2 separate regions of the Homo sapiens genome follow, and region 1 is linked to region 2. Evidence: promoter capture Hi-C in 16 types of primary human blood cells and fetal thymus (Javierre and others, 2016). All regions are on one chromosome and are shown on one strand. Each heading gives the region's core, a stretch centred on a gene start or on the middle of the fragment in contact. The rest is flanking DNA. Distances are from core to core; before and after follow the strand shown.

Evidence for each region. Contacts are between HindIII fragments. The CHiCAGO score rates a contact against its expected background, and 5 or more counts as called.
Region 1: a contact is called between the fragment with the promoter of ACVR2A here and the fragment with the promoter of NMI in region 2, in 9 of 17 cell types (total B cells, total CD8 T cells, non-activated CD4 T cells and 6 more). The highest score is 14.5, in total B cells.

Annotation. Positions count from the first base shown.
Region 1 is chr2:147,843,567-147,848,499 of GRCh38, reverse strand. It overlaps ACVR2A (activin A receptor type 2A), which reads right to left and starts at 3,471. Exons shown (of 11, transcript NM_001616.5): 1 at 3,293-3,471. The coding sequence starts at 3,347. RefSeq lists silencers at 3,030-3,109, 3,865-3,974, 4,055-4,244 and an enhancer at 4,371-4,933. The HindIII fragment of the contact is 3,923 bases long and covers 2,247-4,933 here.
Region 2 is chr2:151,286,173-151,291,127 of GRCh38, reverse strand. It overlaps NMI (N-myc and STAT interactor), which reads left to right and starts at 1,460. Exons shown (of 8, transcript NM_004688.3): 1 at 1,460-1,535. RefSeq lists enhancers at 872-1,291, 1,352-1,431, 1,822-1,871, 1,892-1,941, 2,742-2,911 and a silencer at 1,492-1,691. The HindIII fragment of the contact is 4,870 bases long and covers 1-3,329 here.

The DNA.
Region 1 (4,933 bases), core at 2,222-4,721, 3.4 Mb after region 2:
AAGGCTGTACCATGTATTTTAGGACGATTAGAAGCATCCCTGCCCTCTACCCAACTAGATGCCAGTAGCACACCCCGTCCCCTGTTGTGACAACCAAAAATGTCTCCAAATGTCCCATGGATGGGGATCTGGGGAAGTAGGGAGGGGGACTCACCCCAGCTTGAGAACTGTTGGCTTAGATCATAAACAGGAAAAAAAAATAGAAAATGAATGGAGGGAGAATTTTGTTTCATTTTGTTTCTAGTCTCCATGTTTCAATGTATTATATTTGAATTTGACCACAGACACCATTTATAAGAGATTCTGCCTTTTAGAAAACAAAGTATTTATCATCCATCACTTGTTAATCAAAGTTCAAAAGAATCCCAAAAGATTCTCTGTAATGCTAACTCCCCCTCCAACCACACATACATTCACACATACACAGTACTGCCTAGCTGAACTGAAGAAAACATAATTACCATATTTCCATTTCCTCTTTCATCAAATACATTGACCATACTGCTCCAGCTCCCACAAAATCCAAAGGAATTCTCAACTTACTTCTATGCAACTCAAATACCACAATAGCTGCATAACTCTAGATAGGATAAATCTAAGTACTAAAGCAAGTATTAAAGTCATTCTCATACTTCAACAAACTGTGGGGAAAGACACAAATAAACCACAATGCTATAAAAAGAAAACTAAGATTTATGTTTTGAAACAGAATCTGAGAAAGTATGAGAGGAATGAAAAAATTCAAAATCAAAGGTAATCTGAAGGCACTCCAGGATAGGGGCAAAATTTAAAATGTTTCCCCTGGAATGAGAGAGAGGAGGAAATTATACACTTGGCCATATCCTACAGGAATAGTCTGCATAATCAGTCTCCAGAATACATACCATGGGATGGAAACTGAAAAATCAGAGTCCACGAAATAGTAAACATCCCTCCTAAACACCTGGAACAAAACTGTTCCTTACTATTGTTTCCCATTTTGATTTTTAAAAAAAATCAAATATCTAGAAATGAAAAACTGACAACCTGAGAATTTTTAAAATTCTCATAAAAATAGTCACCTCATGCTTCCAACATGTCAGATCACACATTTTGTAGAAAAATCAATTAGTTGGAGAAACATAATAATCCTTTTTTAGAGTGCATCTGATCCATAACAAAAGGCTTTTAAAAATCAGACATTTTAAGTACTCAAATTGTTCATGTATAAATATGGATTAAGGTCTTTATGATTATTTCAATTATCTTCAACAGAATCACATATTTTAGTTCAACTGGGAATGTTCATCTTAAAAAGCCTATGCAACAACATAATATTAGTTTAATATAAGTGGAATATCTATATGCCCTACAGCAACAAAATCACTTTATTTCAAAATTATAGCTATTAACCTCCTGGCCCACTGAAAATAATCCTGGCCCAATGAAAATAATCCCACAAGAAACTAATGCTCAATTATTTTTACTACCAAACCAAGCAGAAGAAGCTGTAAGATCTGTAGCGACAGCCTGCTTTTCAAGAAGTAATACCTTGAGACTGCTCAAGAATAACCTCCTTCATCAATTAGTGTGACTCAGGTGGGTTTGAGAGGGAATAATGTCCACAATTCCTTGGTCAGTGGCCATGATGCCCCTCCTCCTCAAGGGCAAGAGATCAGAACAAGGGATTTGAACAAGAGGAGTTCACCAGCCACAACATATAGAAGCAGAGGAAAAAAGAGTACTACTGGAAAGATAAAAACTACATGGTTAAGTCATGTCACAAAAGCAAGAGGTTTAATGTTATCAAGGCCTTCATTCATTTCAGACACACCATTGTTTAGCTTCCTTCCCAAACCGTGCACAAAAAGAACTGTCAGCCTGCCTTAAGCATGTTCCTTCTTCCATTTAAACAGACATGATTCTTTTGGTTAATCTCTGGCAATGATCGCCATTTCACAACACATTCAGCCCACCCGGAACTGATCAATACCACTACAGACATAAGACTAGACTTTATCCATTTATTAACCACAAGGAAATGTACCATTCAGCAAAATTCTATACATTACAAAAGATTATATTTAAAGGGGGGTGGGGAAGACGGACACAAACACACAAACACACACACACACACCCCACAGAGGTACACAAAGAAGACTACCACCCTTTAATTTTCCTGTGGCAAACGAGATAAAGACATGGCCATGAAACCTGTCAATTCGCCCCCGTTTCCAAGAGTCCCCCGTAATTCTATGCCACAAGCTTGTAACTGAATATTAAATTTTACAATAAATAGATCCAATGAGACTTATTTAAAATGTTTCATCTATTGAACTAACTCTCCTGTTATGTACATCTGCACACCTTTCAGCTAGATGCTGTATTTATTTATAGAATTTCAAATACAAAAGACTAGATAGTTTTTCCAACCACTGGTTGCAACCATAGAACGTCCTCACAAAATCAAAATTTCCAATATAAAATGGCCCGTTTATTCCCCCAACCTTGAGCTAAAACCTATTTTATGAGTGTACTATATTTAACAAAAACAATTTCACATGGGTTGTTCTAAACCGAAAACAATGCTTCAATACAAAGCGTTTAAAATAAGTATTCCGTAGGTAAGCAAAATCTATGCCCCAAAAGAGCACACAAATGGTGGTTGAACGCCAGCACATTACCAATACCAAGCGGCATACCTCTTCTGCACTGGGTTATAGTTAATACTCCAACAACAACTACAACTATTTTTAACACTGCTGGACGCTGAAGTTGAAGAAAACGTGAGGGGAGACCCAGATTAAATTGCTGATAGGATGTATTGTTTCCCACAGCCAAAATTAAGCAGCAACTGGCTTGATCTATGTCGTGATATTCACCGGTGAAGCACTAATTAAACGATGACAAAAAGCAACCCTTGTTTTGGAGGAGCCCACACTAAATACTCCTTTCAGATCTCAACCTTTGCATAAATTGTCACTTGTGGTATTTGCGGCTTAATTGCAACCCAACCAGCGCTGTCATCCAGTGTTATGGCCACAAAACATGACTTTCTCACTTCCACAACAACACAGCACTCACTCTTATCAGCTCGCCGACCCAACTCAAAAAGAGAAAAATGCATGGAGGTTTCCAGATCACAATCAGACCTGGGGGCGGGGGGGGGGGGCGGTGGCAGCCGAGGGGCGCAGGGAGTGGGCAACCTCCCCAGGCTCCACTGGACTCTCCGACTCAACACCAGCCGCGGCCCCCAGCAGCGGCCGCCGCGGCCGCAGGAGCAGCCCCACCGCGCCGCGCTCCCTGCACCTACCTGAAGAACAGGAGATAAGAAAGACGGCAAACGCCAACTTTGCAGCAGCTCCCATTTTCCCGAGGCGCCGGGGAATCCGGAGGAAGTTCTCGCTAGATATCCAGTTCCCTGGGTCTTCCTCGGAGACAAACCTCCTGGTGTAAAATCAACCGTCATAAAACATATTCGGAAGCCCAGACCAAAAAAAAAAAAAAAAAAAAAAAAAAACGCTCACTGGGTTAAAAAAAAAAAAGAAAAAAAAGAGCACAACGATAAAAAATAAAATGCACCACGGGGGAAAAACCGCCACACACACGCACAACACACAAAACCAAACAACGAAAAGCCAACAACAACAAAAGCGGGTTTAAATCACTGTCAAAATCACTGTCAGCTCCGCTCGCCTCTCCCGTCTCTCGGAACAAAACGCCAGGCTGAGGCGACGAAGAGGCGGCGGCGGCAGCGGCGTCCGCTGCCGCCCGGACAGTCTGGGAACTGACTGGGTCCGATGTCCGGACCGACCTTCAACCCAGACACCTAAAGTCCGAGGACCACTGGCGGCCGAGCTCGCGGCGGTGGCGGCGAGGCGGCTGCGGCGCGGGGAAGGGGCGGCGGGCGGCAGCGGCGGCGGCGGTGCAGGCGGCGGCCAAGTTCTGGTCCAGGCTCTGGCTCCAGCTCCGGGCTCCGGGCTCGGCCGCGTTTTCGGTCTCCTGGCCTCCGCCGGGCTCCGCCCCCCAAACTTCCGGTTCCGGCCCGAAGCTGGAAGCCAGGCGCAGCGGAGGAACGCTCGGCGGCAGCGGCGGCGGCGGCGGCGGCGGCAGCGGCGGCCGGGCGCAGCGCGCGTGCCGGGCCGGGAGCGCGAGGAGATTGTCGGGGAAGCGAGGCGGGAGCGGGGGAGGGGTGAGAGAGCGAGGGCGGGGCGGAGTGGAGGGCGAGGAGGCGGGGCGGACGGAGGCTCGATACCGCGAGGCCTCGGCGTCCGGCCTGCTTGGGCTAGAGATACCGCGACAAAGGGGCGCGGGCGCCTCAAAGTCCCTAAGCTGTGGCTGGGCTGTGGCCGGGCGAGTAGATGCGGGCTAGGCCGGGCACGACCCGTTTCCAAATCGCGTCCGACGGGCCTGTCTGGAGCGCCCACCCAAAGGGTCAGGAGAAGCCCAAGAGGAAGAGGACCCCGAGGTGGGGCGAGTGGCCAGGGACTTCTCCAAGGGGCGTCTGCGGCGCCCAGTCTTTCCTCTGGGGGGACGCCTCGTCCGCTCTGATACCGAGGAGTCGGTGGAAGGCGGACGTGGGAGCTGTTTCGCCGCGCCCGCCGAGCTGCCCAGGCGAGCTCGCGACGCGCGAGCTGGTGTGTGCGCCCCCAGACTTAGCACTGCGTCCCACCGCTGCAGCTTCTGCACACGCGTGCTGTCTTGGTGACTAGAAAAGAAAAAGAAAAAACTCACGGAGGAAGGGCTGTCCACCCGCTCAGGATATTCACGCCATTTATCACGATGCGCAACTTGAATCCATTCCCGCCGTTCCTTTTACACACAAAGCATTGTGTTGAAAACTGTTTTGCACGTAATAGGTGCGCAAATACTTGTTTACTGCGCTTTGAAGAAAAAAATGAGGATTTCGAACGACATATTTGATGATCAGACAAGTGATTACTTGTCAAAATTT
Region 2 (4,955 bases), core at 211-2,710:
TTCCCCTCCACCTGTATCATTTGCCTTTTAAACAGAATCTGAGTCAATATATTAAGTTAGTCCTGTTCTGGCCATGGTCCTGTCCTTTAGTATCTTCTTGTAAAAAATAAAAATAAGAAGAAATGAGGTTCAACTAAATAACCTCGAGAGTTCATATTCCCTCTAAAATTTCAAGGTAAAACTAAAGTAATTCTTTCTCAAGTTGCAGCAGAAGGAGTTTTTGTATTTTCTAACTGGTCTGATAAGCACAAAGAAGTCGTTTTTTTTACTTAGAAATGCCATTTTACAGGAGGCTGAGGTGGTGGGATCACTTGGGCCAGAGCTCAAGATCAGCCTGGGAAACAGTTAGATACCTGCCCCCAGCACCCAAATTAAAAGTACAAAAAATCTGGGTGCGGTCGTGAATTCCTGTAATCCCAGCTACTTGGGAGTGGAGGTGGAAGGACTGCTTGAGCTCAGGAGTTGGAGACTGGGCAACAGAGCAAGACTCATCTCAAAAAAAAAAAAAAAAAAGAGAAATGTCACCACTTTAAACTGGTTCCCATCAACCTTTTTGATACAAAGAAATTTTACTTTTGTTAAACTATTTTAGACCACTGTATCAGTTATTATATGTGACTAGGTAGCATGATAACCTATAATTTATGCCTTGAAATAATTTTGACTCATTTTCTTCCCACATCTGTATTTATGAGCCGGGGCAGCTGTGGGGTGGTTCTTTGTGTGGGATTAAGAGACACTGCAGTTCTTGAAATAAACCAGATGTTTGAATTTTCAAAGGAAAAGTTCACACCTAGTGAAGTATTTATTTACAAGCTCCACAACAAAACAAGAGATTATAAGAAAACTTTCAAGGGACATGGGTCACAGAAACCAACAGGAACACCACAGCTTTCCCAACTTCATGGCCCCGGGGGATGTTACAAAAGACACAGAAACGCCGATCTTGTGCTGACTGTAAACATTTGTCAACTAGTGTTACAATGACTAAGAAATTACAAAAGAGTTACAATCTGATGAAGAGCGATTCCTGCTTTGACTTTATTTGGTTTCTATCCACTTTTCCAACATACCTTATAAAATACATGCAAAAAACTGGTTTTAGAAAGCGTTCCCTAAAATTAGTGTGTACGGAAACTTCAGGTATACTTCTGCTTTCCTCCGCAAAACCACCCCTTTTTAAAAATCGAAAGTGAAATTAGTTTTTTTTTCTGTTAGTGACTAATCATTGGAGACAACCATGTTTAGTATTTGAGCATTGGTTAAATGCTAAAGAAAAATCGCCGTTAAAGCAGTTTTCTTTTTCACTGTCTTTTTCTTTTCGCGGGGAACCCAGCTGTTCCTGCGAGGGCCACCTCCTCAGGAAGACCCCGCAGCTCTCCCGCGGCGCTTCTGCAGGAGGCAGCGACAGTTTCGAGAACCCGGGCCTTCCCCTCCCAGTGCCTCCCGGGGTTCCGGCGTTTCAGGCGCTGCTGTTTTCCGGGAAGGGCAGGCGCGCTGGGCCTTGGGGAGCTGCGCTCGGCGGGCGGACGCGGGTGAGTGGGGAGTCCCTTCCCCGGCTGCCACTCCCGCCGCTGGCAGTCCCGGGCTGGAGAGCCGGGGGTGGAAAGGGAGGTGGGAGCCCTCAGCGCCGACGGAAGTGGGACAGCGCCGGAGTTGAGACCCTGCTCCCCGGGAGCTGCCCGCAGCCGAGTCGCGGAGGCCACGCCGCCTTCGAGGGGGCGCACCTGCTCCTGGGCCCGCTGTGCAGTCTCTGGGCCGTCAGGGCTTCGAGCCTTGTCACTTGTTTGCTTTGCTTCATTGAGGAAATTGAAACATAAAGTTATTTGTGTTTCCTCGCTGTTTTCTCTCTTTTTTTTTTTTTTTTTTTTTTTTGAGACGGAGTCTCGCTCTGTCGCTCAGGCTGGAGTGCAGTGGCGCGATCTCGGCTCACTGCAAGCTCCGCCTCCCGGGTTCACGCCATTCTCCAGCCTCAGCCTCCCGAGTAGAGTAGCTGGGACTACAGGCGCCCGCCACCACGCCTGGCTAATTTTTTTTTTTGTATTTTTAGTAGAGACGGGGTTTCACCGTGTTAACCAGGATGGATACGATCTCCTGACCTCGTGATCCGCACGCCTCGGCCTCCCAAAGTGCTGGGATTACAGGCGTGAGCCACCGCGCCCGGCCCTCGCTGTTTTCTCCGAGTGTCTCTGGAGATAGTCCTTAGGAAAACGGATTTCTTAAGAAAACGATTCTTGGTAGGGGCAGTGTTGTGCAGTCATGGCTGGCGTGTCAGAATAGGCAAGGTTTTTCTTGAAGGAGACATCCGAAGGAGAATACTGTGTTTCCAGTCTGTACAACAGGCAGACGTTCTATTGCCTTTCTTTTTGCTGCCACGCATGCATATAGGAAGATTCGATTCTACACGGCCTGGCACCGCAGTTATATGATTGTATTACGGAAATACGGTGATGTTGATTTGTATCAGTTTTTTTAATTCGCTGCCATAACAAATTACATGGCTTTAGTGGCTTAAACACATAGGAACGCGCGCGCGCGCGCACACACACACACACACACACACTCACATACACAATTTACTATCTTAGGATTCTGTAGCAGTCCTACTGAGGTCTCACTGGGTTAAAATCAAAGTGTTGGCAGGGTTGCCTTCCTTTCTGGAAGCTCTTGGGGTGAATCCTCTTTCCATCTTCCGGAGGCCACCTACCTTATTTGGCTCAGCAGCCCTTCCTCCATCTTCAGGGCCAGCAACATTGCGCCTCTGAAAGTTCTTCCGGGGTCACATTTCACTCTTGACTCTTCTTCTGTCTTCCGCTTTCACTTTTAAGTAGCCTCATGATTACACTGGGCTCCCACAGATAATCCAGGATGCTCTCCATATTTAAAAGCAAGCTGATTAGCAACCTTAATTCAATCTGCAGCCTTAATTCTCCTTTGCAATATAAACTAACATAATCACAGATTCTTGGGATTAAGATGTGGACATCTTTGAGGGAGCCATTGTTTTGCCTACTACATGATTGCATAAAAGGAATGACCATACATCCCACTCATGCATAGAGCAAAAGTATCCAGATGCAAAAGATGCCAAAAGGGTTCTGGTGGTGTTAGATAGTAGACCATTTATGCTGAGAGCCTTTATTACAGGCTCTTGGAATATTGGCATTGTCACAATAATAAAAATAAAAAGCAATTAAATAACATTGCAGTTTCTGTCTTCTGAAATGTAATAAGAGGACTTCATATACATGTGATGTCCTGAGTACAACAAATACTTAAGTCAAGATACCACATAATTCTCTAAATGGAGTGTTTTCAGTGTGTAAGCTTATACTGAGAAAGTGCTCTGAATGTCTGCAGGGAGGAGTAGACATGGTCCCAGCCCTCAACATGTTTACTGATGTGTCACGGAAAATGACATAGGTACACACGTAATTAAAGCGCCGCAAAGGAGATAAAGGAGGGGGAGTAACATCCTTTGGGGGAATCAGAAAAGGCTTCGGGAGCTTGGGGAAAATTTGGAATGGACCTTGAAGAACAGTAAGATTTCATTAGATGGAGATTAAGTTTGGGAGAGGAGGAAGGATGTGACAGTTTGAGGGACAGAGGAAAGAAAAGGAACTATCCAAGTGTTCAGTGTGGTTAGGGAACTGGGTTGAGGAATTGACTAAATAGGACGGGAAAGTGAGTTGGAGTTAGAATGTATCAGACCATGGCTGACCATTAAGAAGATTTTGCAGTTGTTGATACAATAGCGATATATATGTATATATGTATGCGTGTGTGTGTGTGTGTGTGTATGTGTGTGAGAGAGAGAGAGAGAGATGTGGTTTAAATATATATATACTTATATATATATATCGTCTCAAGGCATCTCAAACTTACAGAAAAGTTGCAAGTACAGTAAAACAACTTTTCCTTTTCCTAAATTATTTAAGAATAAATTTCCAATCTGGTGACCTATCATCTTTCATTATATACTTGAGTATATATTTCCTACAAAAAAGATGTGCTCCGACATAACCACAATACAGTCATCAAAATCAGGAATGTGGAGTGCTACGTTACTACAATTTAATAATCAGATCCAATGTGAATTTCACCAGTTGTCCTGATAGTGTCTTGGATAGTGTAGGGGTCAAGGGAAAACTTCCTCTTTGCTCTCTGAAGGGCAAAGGCAGATTAAAAAGGAGAAATGGCATACAAATTTATTAATGTGCACAGGGGAAAAAAATCACATAGTGATGATACTGCACAATGGGGTACAGATGGTTATATTCCCTACTTTTTAGGGGAAAGGGAGATGTGGAAGTGTGGATGATTATAGGGGGTTAGTAAATGATTTTTAAAGGAATTCAAGGGACTCGAAGAACATACAATGGCCTTGGACAAAGCCTGTTGGGCTTGCAGAACAGACAGTGGTTGTAACCCAGGTTTGTTGACAGACTTCAGTCTTCTTTCTGTGATATGAATTCAGAATTAAAAACTCAGGGAAGGGACTAGAGGTAATTGTTCTGTTTTCTGGCAGGTCCCACATTTAGGCAGATAGGAGAACATCAGTGCACCTTCATCCTGTGCTTTGGGAGAGACAGAGGAGGAGGAGGGGGAGGTCAGAGAGACCTTGAGCCATCTTCAGTTCACCATGTCAAAATGCCATACTTCCGGGTATCAGTTTCTGAGCCCCAGTGATAGCAAAAGGATCCAGTTGAGGATCATGCTTTCTACTTAGTTGTGAGGTCTCTTTAGTCTCCTTCAGTATGGACATTTCTTAGTCTTTCCTTGGCCTTCTGAACTTGAAACTTTTGAAGAGAACAGGGCAGTTGTATTGTAGAACCCCTCAATTTGAGTTTGTCTGATGTTTCCTCATGCTTAGATTCAGATTATGCATCTTTGGCAGGACTGTCGTCGAAGTTACATTGTGTTCTCAGTGCACCTTGTAATATGTTACATTATTT